Linked DNA regions of Homo sapiens: region 2 is linked to region 1. The links are contacts of gene promoters, found by promoter capture Hi-C in blood cells and fetal thymus (Javierre and others, 2016). All regions are on one chromosome and are shown on one strand. Each heading gives the region's core, a stretch centred on a gene start or on the middle of the fragment in contact. The rest is flanking DNA. Distances are from core to core; before and after follow the strand shown.

Region 1 (5,849 bases), core at 1,024-3,523:
CTCTCCCCAGCGCCCCATGCCCACCTCCTCCAGCTCCTCCGATTTAAGACTCCAAACCGAGGGCCCTCCAGGCGGGGCCAGCATCGGAGCATCACCTCAGCGCCCGGTGCTGGCTGCCCCCGGGGTCCCGCCTCCCAACAGCCGGCGCCTTTCCAGGGGGCTCGAGGCCCGGGAGCCCAGCACAGAGCCCGCCCTCAGCTTCTCAGGGCGCCAATTTCGCCTCGCCAGACCACCTCTCAGCCCGGACCCGTCAAGGCTCAAGCCCCCTCCTCATGCACACACCTGATCCCCCACGGCCCCTTCAGCTCCTCTCCCCTCGCCACGGGCCTTGTCAGGAAGCGAATGGCTCAAATGGTACTGACAGAGCGCAGCTCGGTCCGCCGCCGCCTTCTCCTCCTCCTCCCCGCCATATTACGGATCTCAGGCTGCAACGCGGGCTCCTGGCAACCGCCGCCGCTGCCACCCCGACTCCACCTCTCAGGGCCGGCACTTCCGGTGGTTGATTCCCGGGCTGTTAAAACCGTTGGGCCACCAGAACACTACCATCCCCGAGGTGCATTGCGCGCCCGCGATGGAGGACGTAATGCTTACGGCCAGCACGCTGCACGCCGGGAAACGTAGTCTTCCTTGCAAGCTAGAGACTAGAATTTATTAATAAATTTACTTATTTAGTAGAATAGGAACACCCCTCAGGGTCTGAAGCCCCCTGAAGTGTTCCTTGAAGTTGCCATTTTTTTCTTATCTGTATAAAGATAACCCCTTTCTATGCAGCCGTTAGAAAACATGTAACATTCACCAAAATATTTTCTTGTAGGTAAAAACTTGCTGAACCCACCGGGCGTGATGGCTTACGCCTATAATTCCAACATTTTGGAAGCCGAGGCGGAAGGATCGCTTGAGCCCAGGAGTTCGAGATCAGCCTGGGCAACAAAGGGAGACGGCATCTCTACAAAAATTTTAAACGTTAGCCGGGTGGGGTGGCGCGAGCCTGTGATCCCAGCTACTCGGGAGGCTGAGGTCGGAAGATCGCTTGAGCCCAGGAGGTCGACGTTGCAGTGAGCCATGATTGCACCACTGCATTCCAACCTGGGCGATAGAGTGAGACTGTCTGAAAGAAAAAAAAAAAAAGGCTGAATCCTAGATGCCAACTGGAAGGCTTAAGACATCTATCCCCTTTTGCAAATCAGTGGGAAAATGCACTAAAGGAAAAAAAGGTAACAGAAAAATCCCTGAATATTTTTGCAAAGTTCTCTACATAAAAATGTTACCAGCCCTCCAAAATATGTCCAGGGGCCCCTTTTCACTCCCTAACTCGGCTTCATGGTCTATCTCTCTTACCCTCCTTCCAGTGCCTGTTTTTGCATATGTAAAATGGGGGTTTTAAAAGTGCCTATCACAAGGGTGGTTGTGAGGCACAGTTGAGGTAACTCCTGTACAGTGCCTGGTACAAAAGCCCTTAGCAGAAGTAAGATTAGGGGGAGGAGGAGTGAAAATGTCACAAATCACTGGGGAGGCCTTTATGTCAGTCCCCACCCTGCCATTAACTGCTTAATTCACCTATCCTCAGTTTCCGCATCTATGAAATAAGGGAATCCTTAAAACCCCTTCCAGTTTTATAATCCGATTGTGCCTTCTTTGCTAGGCTCTTCCAGTCCCCCAGAATCTGGAAAATAAAGTCGATTGAAATCAGTCTCCTGATAGTAACTGTTAGGCTGTATTGAGAATGAGATAAGCATATAAAGTGTTTGCTCGTCAAGTACCTGGGACATGGTAAGTGCTCTGTAAACGTTAGGTGTACTTGCTAACTTTTATTTCCTCCCACAAGAATGTGAATCCCATAAGAGCAAAAACCCTGTAGGTCCTGTTCAACTGTGTCCGGAGCACCTGGACCGGTATTTGGCACATCTTGAATTGAACTGAACTGAACTGAATTGAATTGAATTGAATTGATAGTCTAAGCATCCTGCCTCTCCAGGTTCCCTGGAATTCAGTTTCCTCAAGGGCAGATAAAGGAGTCACTAAAATCCCTTCCAGTCCTACAGCTTTAGGATGGTTCTTATCCCTCCTTTTCTCGCCTAGGAGTCTGAACGCCCAGGTTGAAGTTCAGACCTCGGAAAACCCTAACCCACCTTAGATTTGGAACGTGAGCCTGGGGCCTGGGGCCTGGGCCCTCCCCCGTTGCCATGGAGCGGCTCCGCCCACTGGCGCTGCGAATCCCGATCCCTGATTGGCTGGGCGGCCGACTCCCTCTCTGGATGTGTCTGCTGCCGCCATTGTGCGGCGCTGGTCCCCTCAGAGGGTTCCTGCTGCTGCCGGTGCCTTGGACCCTCCCCCTCGCTTCTCGTTCTACTGCCCCAGGAGCCCGGCGGGTCCGGGACTCCCGTCCGTGCCGGTGCGGGCGCCGGCATGTGGCTGTGGGAGGACCAGGGCGGCCTCCTGGGCCCTTTCTCCTTCCTGCTGCTAGTGCTGCTGCTGGTGACGCGGAGCCCGGTCAATGCCTGCCTCCTCACCGGCAGCCTCTTCGTTCTACTGCGCGTCTTCAGCTTTGAGCCGGTGCCCTCTTGCAGGGCCCTGCAGGTGCTCAAGCCCCGGGACCGCATTTCTGCCATCGCCCACCGTGGCGGCAGCCACGACGCGCCCGAGAACACGCTGGCGGCCATTCGGCAGGTGAGACCCCCACGTTCGCGCCCCTCGGTCCTCCCGAGAGCTCGGACTTCTACTTTTCCTTCCCAGGGTTCCCCGATCTTCTCAGGACGGCCTTCCCACTTCCTCATTCGTCCACAAGGCACACTCCCGGCCCTTGATCGCTCCCAGTGTCTAGGGATCTCCGGACTTGAGGTTTTATATTTACAGAAGACAGCAGATATGTATATAGTTTCTGTGCGCCTGACGCTAAGGTTACATACAGCCAGGAACAAGGTCAAAAGTGTCCCTGGTTTACAGAGTGTACATCGGAATGGGGGAGGCAAGCCTTAAACAAGTAAACACATAAATGAGATAACTTTAAGAGAGTGAAAGGTGCAATGAAGAAATCGGGGGAACTCGAAGGAAAGAGTTACGCTATTTTATTTAGATGGAATAGTCAAGAGAAATCGTCTCCGAAGAAGCAACATTTGAACAGAAACCGGAATTATAAGGAGCCAGGCAGGTGCAGAAGGTCCTGAGATGGGAATAATATAGGGGTGTTCAGGTAACAGAAGAGGCAGTGTGTGGCCTGACTTCAAGGAAGAGAACAAAGACTGGTGTGTGAATGAAGTAGAAAATGGGTCAGGTCAAATAGGTTCTTGGTCAGTAATTGAGGTTAGTCTAAATAGATCACCCTTCACAAGACATACGTTTGCTTGTCTTGTAAATCACTTGAGTCATTTCCTTATCACCTTTTCCCCAGACACACACATTCGCACTCGCACAACCCTGGCAGCTGGACTCACATCAGTTTCTGCCCCCTCCTTTTCACAAGGCACTCCTGAAACTTTTGATACCTCCCAGCTCTTGGCATTCTCCTAGCTTCATAATAATGACAGCTTACAGAGAGGGCTTTTCAGTGGATTAGGCACTTTTGCATCTGTGTAAATATATCTGATTCTCTTCTTTTTTATTTTTCTCTCTCTTCTTCCTTCCTTCTTCTTCTTTTTTTTTTTTTTACTTTACAGAGTCTCACTCTTTTACCCAGGCTGGAGGGCAGTGGTGCAATCTCCACGCACTGCAACCCCTGCCTCCCGTGTTCAAGCGATTCTCGTGCCTCAGCCTCCGGAGTAGCTGGGATTACAGGCGTGTGCCACCACGCCCAGCTAATTTTTGTATTTTTAGTAGAGATGGGGTTCTGCTATGTTGGCCAGACTGGTCTCAAACTCCTGGCCTCAAAGTGATCCACCCGCCTCGGCCTCCCAAGGTACTAGGATTACAGGCATGAGCCATCATGCCTGGCCTCCCTCATTTCCTTTTTTTTTCTTTTTTTTTTTCTTTTTTTTTAAACGAAGTCTCACTGTCTCCCAGGCTACAGTGCATCGGCGCAACCCCAGCTCACTGCAACCTCTGTATCCCAGGTTCAAGTGATTCTACTGCCTCAACCTCCCGAGTAGCTGCGATTACAGGCATGAGCCACCGTGCCCGGCCAAGATTTATACTTTTAAAGCTGCACTCTGGCCCATGTGGAGAATGTACTGTGGGTGTAATTTCATTCCTTTGCCACTGTTTATAGTAGTGTATCTGTTTTTGGAATACACTCAACTCACATTTATCAAGTTTTTCCTTCTATATCTCATTTATAATCTACCAGAAATTCTAGCACTGTCAGAAATGTATATATGTATGTATACATTCGACTTTACCAATAATTTTATTTATTTATTTATTTTTGAGACAGGGTCTCTCTCTGTCACCCAGGTTTGAGTGCAGTGGGGCGATCTCAACTCACTGCAACTTCCACCTCCCAGGTTGAAGCGATTCTTGTGCCTCAGGCTCCCAAGTAGCTAAGATTACAGATGTACTCCTCCACTCCCAGCTAATTTTTGTTTTTTGTTTTTAGTAGAGATGGTGTTTTGCCATGTTGGCAAGGCTGGTCTCAAACTCCTGACCTCAAGTGATCCACCTGCCTCAGTGGATTACAGAGTGCTGGGATTACAGGCAAAGTGCTGGGATCACAGGCATGAGCCACTGCCTGGCCAGCTTTACCAGTACTTCTATGTTATTCCAGTAATTGAGATAAAAAGATGAATCCCTGGTTCTAATTCACATATTAGTATATATAGGAGATATTGCAAGTTCAGTTCCAGACCTGAGTAAATAGTCAATAAAGCAAATATAGTAATAAAGGGAGTCACAAATTTTTTGGTTTCCCAGTGCATATAAAAGTTATGTTTACACTATATTGTAATCTATTAAGTATTGTGTATGTATATATATATATATATATATATATGCACATACACACACATATATAGGTTTTCATCCATGGTTCCTGGCTCATAACTCTCAGCCCTTGCTACAGTATTTTGTTAGGCATCCTAGGCCTTAGGAGCAGGCCTTGGGAAACAGAATCTCTCCTGCCCTCCTTTCACCTACCCCAAGGCAGGACTGGAATCTTTCCCTGTCTTTCAAATTGTGAGTCTTAAGACCCTCCTCAGAGAGGGACCCCACCCTATACCCTGGGGGAAGGAATGCTGACATCATGAAGCTTCCATAAAAACCTAAGAGGAATTAAAAAAATAAAAACTAAAATAAACCTAAGAGGACTTGAAGCCAATTGGTCAGAAGTTCCATAGGCCCCAGCTTGCTATTTGTGTCTGGAGGAGGGTGGGGTGCAGTCTTGGGGACCAAGCCCTCAACCTATGATCTGACACTATCTCCAGGTAGATAGTGTCAAAATTGAGTTGGAGGATACCCAGCTGGTGTCCACTACTTATTGGTGGGGAAAAACCCCCACATTTTTGGTCACAGACGTCGGGGTTGATTGTTGTGAGAGCAGAGGGAAAATGTGATGTGTTTTTCCAAAATAGTCGTACATCTGTATCACATGGGAAAAGGAAAAGATTTAAATAAAGCAGAAAAATCTCCACCCATAAAGGACGTTATTGATAAATTTGACTATATTACCTTTAAAGATGTGTTTAAAAGGACATAATAAATAACAATGGCTAACATTTATTGAAATCTTAACTATTCACTAGCACAGTGCTCTGTGTTGTTTATGGGTACTTAAATAAAAACCGGTAAGGGAGTGACATGAGAATGATATACACCAACTTTAAGATGGTAATTACCTCTGGAGAGGAAAGGAGGAGAATGAAAGGGAGAATTTCAGCTGTATCTGTAGTGTTGATAGTAAAACTGAAGCGGATAAGAGTGCA
Region 2 (5,849 bases), core at 2,078-4,577, 5.0 Mb before region 1:
ACACATTCCTGGCTTTCTGGGTTTGAATTACGTATCATTTATTTCCTGGGCTAGGAAAAAAAAATTGGTTACACAAAGTCACAAAACTCTTAAATTTCCGGACAGGATTCTTTTAACTATAACTTACCCAGTCTAAAGTTGCATTCACATGCCTGTAATCCCAGCCCTTTGGGAGACCCAGGTGGGTGGATCACTTGAGGCCAAGAGTTCGAGACCAGCCTGGCCAGCAAGACAAAACCCCATCTCTACTAAAAATACAAAAAAAAATTAGCTGGGTGTAGTGGCGCATGCCTGTAGTCCCAGCTACTTGGGAGGCTGAGGCATGAGAATCGCTCAAACCAGGGAGGCGGAGGTTGCAGTGAGCTAAGATGGTGCCACTGCACTCCAGCCTGGGTGACAGAGTGAGACTCTGTTTCAGGGGAAAAAAAAAAAAAAAGCTGCATTCAATTGTTGGGTCGAAAAGATGGATAACGCCTAGCCCTAATGATTCGATTGTGTAATACTCCAGTAAAATATGAAACCTGAATATATGACGATTAAAATTGCCTTAATATCCTTTAATTCCATTCATATTGTCTCTCCTCTCATTCATAAATACTCAATATGTCAAGATGGCCCAAACTTCTTATAAACCCATCTGTTCTGTGAAATGTGACTGTTGTAGTTAAGGGATGCTTGTGAGGCACTTAAATAAAGCTATTTCTCAACTGTTCATGACCACCACCAGTTTTTCCTCTCCTTAGGCAGAGGATTACACATAGCTCCAATTATCAAAGGGTATGACACTTGTTTTTAAAAGGTGGGGAAGCAGACAGTATTTTCACATAATATCATTTGAGCAAATAAATTCTTCCTTAATATTTTTGAGTCATGATATGCCAGCACTGCTGTTCCTTAACCTAATACAATTATACTTAGGTCTGCATTGTAAATGGAAAACTGGTCTTCTACATGACAAGATTTACTCTACCTAAACTACAGGCTGGAGGTGGGGGACCTCCCATTTCAACTAAAAGAATCCATGTCACACCTTAAGTGTGATAAAAATTTAGTGACTAAAAAAATACCCTAACCTAATTGTAACTTCACTTCTTCTCATTCCATCAGTAACTTTTAGAACACCGAACTGCTAAAAAATACACATCAGCATTACTGATCTGAGAAAAAGAAACCAAAACAAGTTCAGAGTCAGGAAAGACTGCTTGTCACATTTATCTACTGTTAAGTTCCCAATATTATCAAAATACTTTTGAAAAGGAGAAAGAATCTAACGATTCTTATCAGTGGCTTATTTGTACTCTATGGTAGCAGCCTATTTTTCAGTACCTTAGTATCAACAGTCACGTAAAATCTAGCAACTACTACTTTAAAAAAAATCAGTACTTTTGATCTTCACCGAATTGATAAAGCTTAAGAGTAATGTGATGAACTAACAGTTTAACTACTTAATTGCCGTATTACTAATTCTGGAATTGACACACAAGACAAGAGCGGTGACATCAGAACATTTCAAGATCCAAAAACAATTCCAATACTGATTAAATCCTCAAAAATATTAAAGTTCAGATCCCTTATCCACAACACAGGCAAGCAACTCCAAATAAATAAATGCGAGGAGGGAGGAAGGCAGGACATAAAATTTGCCATCAAACTCCACAATGTTGTTAGGTTAGAAAATTGTTTTTTTGGTTTTTTTTTTGTTTTTTTTTTTGCTGATTGAACAAACAAGCTTTGCACAGGCTCTCCTGCCCTCCTGATGGAAAATAAGTTAGAAAACGCCCTAAGACAAGCACTCAAAGAGTCTAGATAGCTATCCCCCTCTCCTCCCTCCCTCATTTTAAAAAACAGCGAGAAGAATAATCAGGCTTCCACGTTTTGGGTTAGCCTGTTACAGATGACCCAAGTATGCAGAAATAAAATAAACCAGTGAAACTCCAAGGCCAACTGCTGCAAACCTTGGCTATCAATGAAAGTTGTATCCAAAGTACTAGAACGAACAGTCCCCACTAGAGACATAATGGCGGTTAGCTTCCTGCCAGGCACCTTCTAGCTAGTATCTCTCTCCAGCCACCAAATATCTTAAGACCAAGCGGCCCTTACCTTCTTTCGTCTGCGCATTGGTGATCTGCAGGTCGCAGTCGGCAGCTTTCAGCTTCTCTCTCCCCATAATCTGCTTCTTTAAGTCGCAGAGGGAGATGTGGAGCCCATCAAAGGTGACGGTATCATAGTTGAGTTTAGAGGAAAATTTATAATGCACACAGGACATGGTGCCAAGGGATTCCTAAGGTTCAGCGAGGAGACGTGGACACTCTCAATATACGTATATTTATAAACTTTAAGAGCAAAATATGTACACACAAAACACTCAAAGACACCGAAGGACCCTAAGGCCTCAGATTAAATACCCCCCAACCACAAGCAGGGGTTCGTCAGAACAATAATCCAGAGACCCCCCGATACTCAGAATCACTTCATGGGGGAGGAGGAGGACGAGGACGGGGAAGAGGGGAAATCGAGAATCCGCCAACGGGCACAATGTCACCCGGCTGGGTCCCCCTCGCTCATGCTAAGGGGCCGGCAGAGACGGGGGGATTGGCGGTGCAGTCAGTAGCGGTCAGTCCACACGTTAAGAGTCCGAGCGACCCCACGGGGTCAGGGGTCCATAGCGCGGCCGCACCTCCCGGCGGGTCTCTCTCTCCGTGGATTGGGGTGACCCAGGCCCCGGGAGAAGGTTGAGGGGAGAGGGCCTAGGCCCGGAGTCCACGAGCGGCCTCACGCCTCCTCCTGGCTTCCGGACGACCGGCGTCAGCTTCCCCAGGCCCAGGCCCAGGCCCCCACCGCACACAAACCCCTGGCGCCTGCTCCCCGGAGGCCACGAGCGGCCCCACGGCCTAGGCCGAAAACGCGCGGTCGGCGGAGGAGAGGCCTTCCCGCAGGCCGCCCCCGGCTCCGCCTCCCCCCGCCGCCGCCGCCGCCTCGGACACAAAGCCGGCGCTAGGCCTCGGCGAGGCCTCGGAGCACTTCCTCACCACCCCGGGCCCCAGCCGGCGGCCGGGTGGCTTCGGCGGACCCCGGGGACACCGCCGAGGCTCCCTGACGCTTCTTCTCGCCGGATCCTCCGCGCTTCGCTCGCCTTTCGTTTCCGTCGCCTTGAGGCCCGGAACCGCGAGAACACGCCCGCAAGCTGCTGGGCAGCGGCTAGGGCTTCTCCGGCTCCCTTTTTGTGTTGGCCCCCTGCCGCTCGGGGGCTCTCACCGAGCGGCGGCGACACCTCCAAGCCAGGTACTATGGCGGACGCGGCCTGGCTTCGGACGAGCGCCCCACTGCGGGGTCTCTTAAGCAGGGATTGCACGGGCGGCGCGCGCGAGGCGGGGCTGGCGTGCGCGGATAGGCGGGCCGAGAGGCGGGGCGGCTGACGTCACAAAGCGCACGGCCCGCCCACGTGACCCCGCGCTTTGTGACTCCAAAGCGCGGAAACTGAAAGAGCAGGGACAACGGGAAGAACCATCTGCTTCAAAAGGGAGGGGGGTTGCGCGTCAGGAGGACCGGCTCACAGGGAGGCTCGGTGGGGAGAGCTCGCCTTGCAGGGGCTGCGTGCAGTTTCCACTGCAAAGTGGCTTGCCTAGGGGTGGCCGGCTAACTCCCCCTTCCCCACAGGCCCCGTCAGCTCCTCTAAGCCTCCCAATTTAAGTGAGCATTATGGTTGCTACGCAGAAAACTATGGTTGCTATGCAAGCGCTCCCTAGCTGCTGCTTCCAATAAACTGGCTACCCTATACTCTTGACAAGTGGAAATCGTGGAGCAGCCGCTGCCAAGAACTGATAACAGCCACCAGCACCATACAGATTTATTGAGCTCTTACTATGTGCTAGGCACAGGGCTGATCGCATAACAACATTGCCAGGCTCAGCAGCCACGTTGTCTGGGTTGGATCCCTGGCTGTGGGGGCTCTAGATTTAACCCCTCTGTGCCTGGGTCTCCTTGGCTGTAAAATGCCATTAAAAATAGTACTTGGTTTACTTGGATTAAATAAATGCACATAAATCCATAGTCTAAGACCATGCCGGTGCATTGACGTGGCTCAATGCACCGAAATATTAATAGCTGTAGCTCAATAAATGTCAATTTAACAACAAAAACCCTACGTGGTCAACATGACATTATTTCCGATTTATAGATGATGGAACTGAAGCTAGCAATCATGTACTTTCTGAATTTGCAGAAGGGGATGCCTGCTCAGTGGCAGGGTCCCGATTCCATTCCTAAGCGCAAATGCCAGGAACAGTGACAAGAACCCCCTCAGTAGATTGGAATTTTTTTTTTCCTTTGGGCATGGGGACGTTATTACATTCAGAAAAAATCATAATATAATAAAATTACATTCATAAACGATAGTTATTATCGTTTACAATCCATGTTCCTCATCCTCTCTGAATTTTACAGGCTAGGCTCAGTGAATTTAGGCAACTGAGAATAAGATCCTATAGCCGAGAAGTAGCAGAGTTTCCCAGGGACTTCCTGCAAGCACACTCCAAATTCTTACTGAACTTGATTTAAAATTAATCACCATCCTGCCAGAAAAGCCTTCCTAAGGCCATCTTTTTAAAATAAGATGGCGATCTTTCTCTATCCCTTTAGTCTTTTCTTCCTAGCACTTGCAGATAGTTGACAGTTACACATTTACTTTTTAATTATCTATCTCCCCCAACCCCTACCTTCGGCTGACAATAGGAATCTTATCTTTATATTTGTTTTTGCTGTATCCTCAGCTCTTAGAACATAGTAGGTGCTCAATAAATACGTGCTGAATAACTGGATACATTTTTACGTGATCCATAGAGATGTCGTGGCAATAAAATTTTGGCCGTAGTCAAGGGCAGCTCTAGAGATACCATTACAATTTAACTCAACCACACACATCAGTACTTTTCATATATAACAAGTTTCTTCCACTTTTACCTCTTTGTTATTTCACCAAAAACTTATTGCTGCCAGGTCCTCTTCAGGTTGGTTGCTTTTTTCTTAAAAGCCTCTGTGTGAATGAAAGGGCGAGGGCTATCTCTAGTGAAAGAAAAACTCGACGAGAAAATTGCAAGCCGTCATGGAATTCACTCCGAAGCGGTGAATCTGTTCCTTTTGCCCGTCTGTGGCCGACCCCTTTATATACTGAATGCCTAATTTAATCAGCGTGGTGCATCATGGGATCTCAAAGTGGGCCACACCCTCAGGATATGACAGAGTGGATCATAACCTAATCTGCAGGGGGGGATGTCCTTGGAAAGAATGTTGTCTATTGGTCCAACCGTTCTCATCTGCCAAAAACTTTGTTCAACCTTGATATTCTCACTTACAGAGGCCTCACTTCATATCACATCAAACAGGTCAAAATGCATTCACCACCTGCAATAAGCCTATGACTTGAGTTGCCTGACTAATTGACACAATGCTACATTTGGTCCATTTCACTGAATTCCTTTACTAATCTTCATTTTGCAGTTTTCTTTTTTTAAAAAAAAAACTTTTTATTTTCTTTTTTCTTCAGTGAGCTGAATTGTAAATTTTGCCGTTTTCTTTGGGTAATATGGAGCTGGTCTCCCTGACGCTTCTCTCCCTACCAATATTTTTGTAAGCCCTGAAAAAGCCTTTTGTACTATCCTACAGTGAATGAAGCATTCCTGTCTAAGCTTCTCATAATGTAACAATTCTGGAGCTCCCATGTCCCAGGATTTCAAACCTTTGTCATTCTCAAACCCAGTATAGCCTCATACCATTGACCATAGACAGTTAGTAAACCCCTTAACTTATTTTCTTATGTCAAAATTCAGTTCCAGCAAGCGGAATTGGGAGAT

What was found. Contacts are between HindIII fragments. The CHiCAGO score rates a contact against its expected background, and 5 or more counts as called.
Region 2: the fragment with the promoter of RBBP6 here is called in contact with the fragment with the promoter of GDE1 in region 1 in 1 of 17 cell types (non-activated CD4 T cells); the score reaches 5.3 in non-activated CD4 T cells.

The regions. Positions count from the first base shown.
Region 1 is chr16:19,518,522-19,524,370 of GRCh38, reverse strand. It overlaps GDE1 (glycerophosphodiester phosphodiesterase 1), which reads left to right and starts at 2,273. Exons shown (of 6, transcript NM_016641.4): 1 at 2,273-2,667. The coding sequence starts at 2,407. It overlaps CCP110 (centriolar coiled-coil protein 110), which reads right to left and starts at 429. Exons shown (of 14, transcript NM_001323572.2): 1 at 283-429. RefSeq lists a silencer at 2,312-2,481 and enhancers at 2,592-2,761, 2,072-2,806, 2,932-2,991. The HindIII fragment of the contact is 7,297 bases long and covers 1-5,178 here.
Region 2 is chr16:24,537,044-24,542,892 of GRCh38, reverse strand. RBBP6 (RB binding protein 6, ubiquitin ligase) reads right to left here and starts at 3,327. Exons shown (of 18, transcript NM_006910.5): 1 at 2,101-3,327. The coding sequence starts at 2,266. RefSeq lists enhancers at 1,677-2,669, 2,670-3,664, 5,091-5,385 and silencers at 2,881-3,060, 3,331-3,380. The HindIII fragment of the contact is 3,955 bases long and covers 1,732-5,686 here.